3 separate regions of the Homo sapiens genome follow, and all the other regions are linked to region 3. Evidence: promoter capture Hi-C in 16 types of primary human blood cells and fetal thymus (Javierre and others, 2016). All regions are on one chromosome and are shown on one strand. The core of a region is centred on a gene start or on the middle of the fragment in contact, and the rest is flanking DNA. Distances in the headings are between cores, read along the strand shown.

Evidence for each region. Contacts are between HindIII fragments. The CHiCAGO score rates a contact against its expected background, and 5 or more counts as called.
Region 1: the fragment with the promoter of ACTR5 here is called in contact with the fragment with the promoter of PLCG1 in region 3 in 1 of 17 cell types (endothelial precursors); the score reaches 5.9 in endothelial precursors.
Region 2: a contact is called between a fragment that was not itself captured here and the fragment with the promoter of PLCG1 in region 3, in 1 of 17 cell types (fetal thymus). The highest score is 5.6, in fetal thymus.

What each region holds. Positions count from the first base shown.
Region 1 is chr20:38,746,734-38,749,848 of GRCh38, forward strand. ACTR5 (actin related protein 5) reads left to right here and starts at 1,727. Exons shown (of 9, transcript NM_024855.4): 1 at 1,727-2,120. The coding sequence starts at 1,746. RefSeq lists silencers at 1,203-1,472, 1,773-1,962 and an enhancer at 1,323-1,824. The HindIII fragment of the contact is 9,906 bases long and covers 1-3,115 here.
Region 2 is chr20:38,841,500-38,844,702 of GRCh38, forward strand. The region is part of intron 2 of PPP1R16B (protein phosphatase 1 regulatory subunit 16B); the gene reads left to right. Among named protein-coding and RNA genes, the nearest start is that of PPP1R16B, 37 kb to the left of the region's middle. RefSeq lists an enhancer at 1,264-1,373. The HindIII fragment of the contact is 550 bases long and covers 1,625-2,174 here.
Region 3 is chr20:41,135,585-41,138,792 of GRCh38, forward strand. It overlaps PLCG1 (phospholipase C gamma 1), which reads left to right and starts at 1,959. Exons shown (of 32, transcript NM_002660.3): 1 at 1,959-2,274. The coding sequence starts at 2,058. LOC124904903 (translation initiation factor IF-2-like) reads right to left here and starts at 1,929. Exons shown (of 2, transcript XM_047440629.1): 1 at 118-1,929. The coding sequence starts at 1,755. The coding sequence ends at 1,174. It overlaps PLCG1-AS1 (PLCG1 antisense RNA 1), which reads right to left and starts at 2,416. Exons shown (of 7, transcript NR_109889.1): 1 at 2,130-2,416; 2 at 118-227. RefSeq lists enhancers at 474-1,258, 2,043-2,827, 2,749-2,848, 2,997-3,076 and silencers at 1,229-2,218, 2,339-2,598. The HindIII fragment of the contact is 8,103 bases long and covers 917-3,208 here.

The sequences.
Region 1 (3,115 bases), core at 477-2,976, 2.4 Mb before region 3:
TTCACTAACTTACATTTACTGGTTTCTGTGTTCTGCTGGTCCCCCTCTTAATTAACTTAACGATGGTTACTTCAGATATCTGAACAATGGACGTGTGTTGAAAGACAACACAACCTGATTTTTGCCACTGGGCTGGCTCCCAATCTGGTTTAGGTGTGTTAACAGGCTGGGCCCGTCGTCTCAAGCCTGTAATCCCAGCACTTTGGGAGGCCGAGGCAGGCGGATCACTTGAGCCAAGGAGTTCGAGACCAGCCTGGCCAACGTGGCGAAATCCCGTCTGTATTAAAAATAAAAAAAATTAGCTGGGTGTTGTGGAGCATGCCTGTAATCCCAGCTACTCGGGAGGCTGAGGCAGGTGAATTGCTTGAACCGGGGATGTGGAGGTTGCAGTGAGCCAAGATCACACCACTGCACTCCAGCCTGGGTGACAGAGCCAGACTCCGTCTTAAAAAAAACAAACAACAACAACAACAAACACTGTTAATAGAGGTTCTTGAGATAAGTTAGGAGTTTCATTTCTCGCTTACAATATCTTTTGTAACTAATTTGATTTTATCTCTCAAACTGAAGTGTTATAGACCTGGTAGAGTAGATTCAAGGCAGCTGCTCTATTCTTTTTCTTCTTTCAAAATGGTTATGGCCAGCATGGGCAACATAGTGAAATCCCTTCTCTACTAAAAATATAAAAATTAGCTGGGCGTGGTGGTGCACGCCTGTAATCTCAGCTACTTAGGAGGCTGAGGCGGGAGAATCACTTGAGTCCAGGAAGTCGAGGCTGCAGTGAGCCGAGATCGCCCCACTGCACAAAAAAAGGTTGTAGTAAAACAACTGCTCTAATTCTTACCCCCTTAGCTAGTGAAAAGATGGAAATGCGACAGGATAGAGCGCGACGAGTGCTTTTAGGGCTAAAACTGAGTGGGTCACACACATGGCCTCCTCTCCCACCCGCTCCTGGCCAGAATTTAGTCACATGAGCGCATCTAGATCGCAGCCAGACGGATGGCCACGTGGGAGTGGGAGGTGATGCCACTAAAAGAGAGGGAATGCTTGGGGAACAATCAGCAGTCTTTTCTCAGGGTTTGAGAAAACACTGTGTCTTAGTGAGAAGACACAGTCTGTGCGAGTTAGTAAAGTGAACAGAACTGAGTAGTCAGCTCCCTAGTCAAGAAATTGAACAGTCGGCAGAGTTTGAGATTTCTTAACGTAAAGGAAGCGTCAAAAGATAAAGGACCCTTCTAGCCAGGACGCAAGACTGAGGGCGAGACAGCCACGCGGAGGCGGGGCCGCCGGCGGTCGAAGGTGCGCGCCCGGCCGACGGTGCGCGCCCGGCCGACGGTGCGCGCCCGGCAATGGGGCGTGGCCAGGCAGAGAGGCGGGGCTCCACCGAGCGCGGCGCTGAAGCTGGCAGCCAGAAAGGGGCGGGGCCTGGCGGCGATAGGCTTTGGGGCGGGGCTTCCAAACCGGGCGTCCCGGCTAGAGTGAAGGGGCGTGGGCACTCATAGGCTATTGGGGGAGAGGTTAAGAAACGTAGAATTTCGCAGCCAGAATGGGTACGTCTCAGCGATCCTGAAAGCAGCCTTGACAGCCAGAGGCGAGTCAAGTGGAAAGGCTGGCCGGGCTTCGAGAAGGGAGGGGGCATCGAGGTACTTAAAGGCCTGAATCGCGCGGCGTGACGTCGGGGGCGCGGTTTCGCGGCGTCTGGGCGGACACTGCGCCGAGGGGCGGGGCTGGACGCGCGCTCCAAGATGGCGGCGAACGTGTTCCCGTTCCGCGACGCCCGTGCCGCACCGGACCCAGTGCTGGAGGCCGGCCCGGTGGCACACGGGCCACTGCCGGTACCGCTGGTGCTGGACAACGGGTCGTTCCAAGTCCGCGCTGGCTGGGCGTGTCCCGGGCAGGACCCAGGTCCCGAGCCGCGCCTGCAGTTCCGCGCGGTGTGCGCCCGCGGTCGTGGCGGGGCACGGGGCGCGTCGGGCCCGCAGGTGGGGAACGCTCTGGGCAGCCTGGAGCCACTGCGCTGGATGCTGCGCTCGCCCTTCGACCGCAACGTGCCGGTCAACCTGGAGCTTCAGGAGTTGCTGCTGGACTACAGCTTCCAGCACCTGGGTGTCTCCTCACAGGTGAAGGGCGGAGTAGGCTGGGCTGGGCTGGGTTTGAGGGGAGGGGTGCGGTCTCGTCTCCGCTCACTCTGCTCTCGGAGAGGTAACAGTCACTTCAGTAGCTCCGATTGTCTTTTAGTCGACCAGATGCTAGGCGCTGTGGGTGTAGCAGCGAATAAAATGCTGCTCCTTGTATCTTGGAGCATACCTTTGGGCATATATGCTTGTTTGTTAAGAAGCCCATTTATTAACAAATACGTATTGAGCACTTACTCTGTGTCAGGCACTTTTTAGGCATTTGGAGTACATGTGTGAACACAAAACTTCCTGTGCTTATGGAGCTGTTAATACTATGGAAAGATATTCTAGTATGAAAAGGCAGACAGTAAACATAGAAATAGTAGATTCTACGCCGTGATAGGAGAGGAGGGAGTTACATTTTTTCAGTAAGATGGTCAGGGTAGGACTCGTGAAGGTGATGTTTGAGCAAGGACTTGAAGGAGGTGATTCAGGTAGCAAGCCATGTGAATATCTGAAGGAAAAACGGTCCAGGCAGAGGGAGCAGCCAGTAAAAAGGCCCCGAGGCAGGAGTGTGCCCTAATCCTAACTGCAAGGCTGCCTGTGTGAGGGGGAGAGTAGTACCTGAAAGAGGATGTCAGAGAGGTAGTGGAGAGGCAGATCACACACCTTATAGGCTTTTACTGAGTGAAATGGGGAGCCATGGCAGGGTGTTGAGCTGAAGAAGGACCTGACTTGTGTTTTAAAAGGATCACTATTACTGCTGTATGGAGAATGAATTGTCTTGGATCATAGGGTGGAAACAGGGACGAGTTAGGAGGCTGTTGGAATAACCCAGGTAAGGGATGATGGTGGCTTAGATGAGGCAGATAGCAGGGAATGTCATTAGAAGCAGTTGGATTCTGGAAATACTTTGAAGATAGAGCCAACACGATTTGCTGACAGTTTGGATGGGACCTTGACTTAATAACTTAAATTGACTCTACTTTCGTATTTTC
Region 2 (3,203 bases), core at 650-3,149, 2.3 Mb before region 3:
CCTGGGTGACAGAGCAAGACCCCATCTCAAAAACAAACAGAAAGCCTTTTCATCATCCCAAAAAGAAGCCTCATGCCCATTTGCAGTGACTCCTGGTTCCCAGACCCAGGCAACTATAATCTACTTTCTGTCTGTATAGATTTGCCTTTTCTGGACATATTATTTACATGGAATCATACAGTATATGATCTTTGTGATTGGCTTCTTTCATTCAGAATACTGCTTTCAAGGTTCATCCTTGGTGTGACATCATATATCAGGGCTTCATTCCTTTTCATTGCCCTGTAGTATTCCATTGTATAGATATTCCGCATTTTGTTTATCCATTCACCAGTAGGTGAACGTTTGGATTATTTCTATTTTGGGGTAGGATGAAGAATGCTGGAAGGCAAATTTGGGTACAAGTCTTTGTGTGGATATATGTTTTCATTTCTCTTGGGTCATTACCTAGGAATAGAATTGTTGGGTCATATGGTAAATTATGTTTAACTTTTTAAGAAACTGCTGTACTGTCTTGGAAAATGGCTTCACTGTGTGAATTCTCATCCCCCATTTTACAGATGAGAAATTTGAAGCTCAGAGAGACTAAGTCACCTGCCAAGGTCTCACAGGTTTTAAGTGTCAGACTCAATCCCAGGATTCAAACCCAGATCAGTTTCTCCGAAGCCCATGTATTTAACCACCAGGCAGTCCTGTACTTCCTGCTTTTGTTTTCACTAGAAAACTAGAGAACCCTCAGTTGCTGTACTGATCTGTGTTTGTTTTGGCCTTAGGCATCCTGGTGTTTCTGCTGGCATCTTGGGCCCTTTGATTTGGGGCCCCCAAGATAAACTCTTTAGCCCCAGATATAACTTCTTTCTAGGGCCACAATAGCCCAGCCTCCCTTGAAACCATTGAATGTATGTTAAGTTGTTAGAGACTTCTGTTTTTCTCTCAGAATGTGTAGGGTTTTCTTTATGGAAATTCTCATTCAAAAAATGTTTGAGTGATTCTTCTGTACTCTAAATTTAACTCTTATTAAATTTAATGATTTTTCTCACTGTAAAAGTTTTCAAACTCTTTTTTAAGCAGTGGAAACTTTTCTTTAAATGAGATATTATGCAGAAACCCAATATGTAAAACAAAGGAAGGAGCTGTTCTGACTGGGGTCAGGTGGGTGGGGTGCTCAGTCATCCCTGCCACCTGCAACCCCCTCCCCCACCCCCAGGCACAGTGCTGGACACCTGGGCCTTGCCACCACCATCTTAAACCAGCAGCTCATCTACAGGAACTAGCTCAGACTTTCACTTTTGGTCCTTTTAAAAAGGGAAGTTTCTTTTCTTCTAATTATTAAAAAAAAAAAAACCCTGTTATTGTTACAGAAACTTTTAGAAGTACAGAAAAAAAGAAGCATTAAGAAGAAGATAAAATCACCCATATTCCCCCTGAACAGCAACAACCATTGATAATATTTTGGTATTGTTGTGTCAGGCAGCGTCCTGGGAGGAAACAAATGGTGATTTTATATGGGGTGATTTGTGGAAAGTTTGATAAAGGGGCAGTTTGTAAAGGGTTTAGGGAAGTGGTCCTCAAACTTTTTGGTCTCAGAGGCCCTTTATATTCTTAAAACCTGAGAACTCCTAAAAGCTTTGGTTTAGCTGGGTTCTATCTACCCATATTTACTGTATTCGAAATTTAAACGGAGGCATTAAATATTTATTCATTCATTAAGTCAGAATGATAAACACATTATCTGTTGGCTATCTGCTTCTGCGTAGCAGATGAACTCAAAATTTAGCAGCTTAAAACAATAAACATATACTGCCTCACACAATTTCTGTGGCTCAGGGATCCAGAGCAGCTCAGCTGGGTGGTTCTCGTTCAGGATATCTCATAAGGTTGCAGTCACTTCAGGATTTACCTGGGGCTGGAGAATCCACTTCCAAGATGGCTCACTGGCATGGCTCTTGGCAGGAGGCCTCAGTTCCCTGCCATGTGGCCCTCTCTATAGGACAGCTCGAGTGTTCTCTCAGCATGGCAGGTGGCTTTTTTCAGAGTGAGTGATCCAAGAGATAGAGGAATCCGCAATGCCTTTATGACCTTGTGTTGGAAATCATGTACCATCACTTCTACCATCTTCTATTCATGAGAAATGACTCACTAGGTCCAGCCCACACTCAAGGGGTGGGGAATTAAGCTTCATCTTTTGAAGAGAGAATTTGTGGACATGTTTTAAAACCACCACATGTTAACATAAATATTTTTATGAAAAATTATATTTTTCAAAACAAAAAAAAAAGCAATGAGGAGAGTAGCCTTGTTTTATATTTTTGCAAATCTTTTTAAGATCTGGCTTAATGGAAGACAGTTGGAGTATCTTATCTGCTTCTGCCTTCAATCTGTTGTGATATGTTATTTTGGTTGAAGTAAATAAAGAAAATCTTATGTAGTTGGAAAAGGGAGGAAATATTTTAATTGCTTTTTCAGATATTGTGGATATTCTTTGATACTACATCTAAACTCAACAAGTAGTAGTTTCTTAAAGGTTAGTTGCAGTGCTGAATCTGAAGCCATATCAATTTACATCAAAATCCATTGGTCTGTCTGGCATTTTGAATGGTTCTTTTACCCATGTGTACTTTTTTTTAATGTAATATATTGGATCTGTTAGAAAATATTGGTTCACTGAGTTACACAGATCTTCCAAATGTTGACACATTGCTTTATACAATATAAGAAAATGTATAGTTTCAATAACAATCTTGCCATACAATTATTCAGGTACTGGGAAACTGTAAGTTCGTGGTAGCTATAAAAGTTTTCTAAAATTTGGATTTTTGCTTAAAAGTTCAAATTCTATCATTGGTAACAAATGCTGTCAGTTGTGAGAAGATCCATTTGCCCTTTTTAGGAAAAAAAACACTGCCTGTTAAATACTCAAGTCTGAATAACCATTGTTTGCTAGACATCCTTTAAGTAAAACTAGTGCTCCATGAGAGAAGAGACTAGCTTAGCACACAGCTTAAAAAATGGCTCAAGTAATGCAGTTGGAGACAATGATTATTCTTTTTTTGAACTTCCCATTTTGTCACATGGAATATTAAAAGGACATGTACTCAAGGATTAAGGTTTCATAAAATTAATACATTTTATTGCTTTATCAAGGACATTTTTAAGGGAAACTGGTATTGATTTTTTTCTTTTGATTGCACATACAAAACAAT
Region 3 (3,208 bases), core at 709-3,208:
AGTGGGTTGCCTGAGCACACGCTCTTACAAACTCTAGTCTAGTCCTACTATCTCACAATTCCCAGGAAGCCTGGCTCTTTCTCTGGCATCAGCTGGAAGCTCTGTTGGGCTTCTCACCTCTGAAATGCAGTAAGTTGTCCTGCTGTGCCTGGCAGCCGACCCACTGCCTGGCTCAACATGTCAGACAGGCTCCACCGCGACCGTGGGTGTCCTCAATTTTGGCGGTGCTGACAAGGGTAGATAGATTGCAGGGGTGAGTTTCAAGAATGGCTTCAGAAAGACAAAGAGTATGAATTATATTCCATAACCAGAAAAAGGCCTTGTGGCTGGAGAATGGAGAGTGAAGGATCACTTGTGAGAGATGAAACTGGTGAGATGGGCAGGTCATATAGAACCTGCTAGGCCAAGCAGGGAGTGTGGATTTTAGGTGCAATGGGAATTCACGGAGGGTTTTAGCCTGGATGTAGGGGATCATGATTTAATTTCATTTTAAAGATTTAAAGCATGATAAATCCAGGCAAAACCAAACTGATAGATCCAGGCAAAACCAAACAAGGTGAGTAGTCTGGGTGACAGGAGATGGGGCCTTCAGCTTGTGGGCTGAGTGACAAGGTCTTGATGGATTGGAGGTGAGGCAAAGGGAGGAATCAAAGTTAGCTGCAAGGTTTTTGACCTTCCAACTTAGAGAAGTTTAGCGCCGCGTTCTGAGAAAGTGAAGACTGTGGAAGGAATCGTTTGGGGAGGGAAGGCGAGCTGTCTAAGGGGGGGGGATGTGGAACATGCAGTGGGATGCTGGGGCCTGGAACGTAGGGGAGATGCAGGTTTGGAGTCACCGGTGCCTGTGTTGTTGGGCAAAGCCAGGGGAAAGGTCAGGTCGCCTTGGGATCTGGCCTAGCACTGAGTGCAGAGGAAGAGAAGCTTCTGAGATCGAGAGGCAGCGGCTACAGGAGGAGGAAGAAAGCAAGGCGGGGAAAACCAAAGTTCAGGAGAGCATTTGCAGGAGGGCGCTGCGGGGTAGGGTCTGAGTCGGAGCCCCGAATCGGACTCGAGTCCTGTCGCGTGGGGACGGAGCGTGCAGAGGCCCATGCGAGGGACAGACACAAAGGCCCTGGGAGCTGCAGGTCAGACCACTGGACAGCGCGGCCGCGGACCTAACGCCCCTGTAAGGGGTGCTCACGCTTGGGGGGAACTCTCCGAAAGAGAGGACCACTGAAAGCCACCCTGGCAGCAGGGGCGGAACAGACAGACGTGGGTCTGGCCGTCGCCAGAACTGCCTGCGGACCAGCCCCGCGCTGCCGGGGGGGCGGGACATGTCGGCTGTCCATCAGTGCCCGCGACCAATCCGCAGGCAGCCCCGCCCCCGCCCCTCCCGGGAGAGGGCGCGCGGAGGACCCGCCGCCGCCGGTGTGAGGCGGCCCGTCCTGGCTCCCTTGTCCGGGAAGCCCGCCCAGGTAACTGAGTTTGGCCGGGCATTCCCGGAGGACGCGCCATCCCCTCACGTCCCGTCCCGGTCGCTGCATGGGCGGTGTTCGGGACGCGGGGGCTGCGTCTGTGCGGGACCGCGGGGTAGCGGCCGCCCGTGCGAGTACGCCTGACTGACGCGCCGGCCGCCGGGCCTGCGGCCTGTGGGCGGGGCTGCCGTGCGTGACAGGGCCGCTCGTGGCCGCCGGGCTGTGTCCGGGGCCGCGTGAGAAAGCTCTGCGGGACTGAGGGCTGGGTGGGTCGACCGGGAACGGCGCGCGCTCCCGCCGCCATCGCGCCTCCGTCCCCGCCTGCGGCCTGTCTGGGGGTCGCGGGGCGCAGGCGCGGCGGGCCGACGGGCGGGGGTCCTCCCCACGGGTGCGCGGGCGCCTTTGTTCCCGGCGCCGAAGCGGGGTGGGGCCTCAGGGCAGCCCCGCCCCGCCGCGCTGAGGCCCCGCCCCGTGTCCGCCTGCAGGAGCCGCCGCCGGGTCCCGCTCGTCTGCCGCCTCAGCCTCAGCCCCAACCTCAGCCGCCGCCGTTGCGCTTGCTCCCGGGCGGTCCTGGCCTGTGCCGCCGCCGCCCCCAGCGTCGGAGCCATGGCGGGCGCCGCGTCCCCTTGCGCCAACGGCTGCGGGCCCGGCGCGCCCTCGGACGCCGAGGTGCTGCACCTCTGCCGCAGCCTCGAGGTGGGCACCGTCATGACTTTGTTCTACTCCAAGAAGTCGCAGCGACCCGAGCGGAAGACCTTCCAGGTCAAGCTGGAGACGCGCCAGATCACGTGGAGCCGGGGCGCCGACAAGATCGAGGGGGCCAGTAAGTGCGCCCACTTCCTGCCTGGGCCCGCCCCGCGCGGGGGTCGTGGGAGCCCGGCCCGACTGCTTGCACCCCGGCCGGCCGCCCCAGCGACTTGGGCAAACTTTCGGGCCCTCCCAGACTCCCTCCGGGCCCCGCCCCCGCTTCGTCTCGGGTGGTCACTGGGGGCGGGGGGCATCCGGGTCCTCGGTCACCTGACAGGACACCCCCCCTCCCCCAGCTGGGGGGAGTGTTCCAGGCGCTTTGCCCTGAGGCCTAAAAATCCTCGCGGGCTGGAGACCTGCGGTGCAGGCATCGGGCCCCCCAGACCCTGGGAGTGGTGGCGGCGTCGGCGAGGGGAGCTAAGGCAGTGGCCCCCACCCTGCACGGGAACCTGGGGCCTGACCAGACGGTCCCCGCCCACTCTTTATCCAGAAAGAGCAGTCTGTGAAACTCTCCGGGCCCCCAGGCTGGGCTCTTATTTGCAAAGGAATCTTTGGGTTCCCTAAGTAGAACTTAGGCAGATGTTGGGTAGGGCTGGTCTTGGAGCAGAGCTGGGCCTACTCATCTCCCTCTGGGGGAGAGGGAGGAAGGTGGTCTTGTTTGGTTTGGAGAAGCCTGAGAGAAGCCAGTGGCTGGAATTTTTTTTTTTTTTTTTCTGCTACTTTTGTCCCAAAGCTGGGTTTTGGAGGCCTATGTGGGTGGGCAGACACTCAATGCCAGGGCAGGGACTCCCCTTGCCCTGGGAAGCACGTTCCCAGGAGATGGGCCCCATAAAGGCCTGCCCCAGCGCCTTGGAGTCAGGTATTCTTCTCAGGAGTGCAGCTAGTTTGTGAGTCTAGCCCTTTGTCCTCTGTCCGGTGGCTTCAGGGAGCGGGAGCGGCTTCTCTTAGTTTCCTGCCTTTTCGCCTTCCCAGGCCTGAGCTTGGCTGCTTTTGCGCTGGTCTCTAGTGGG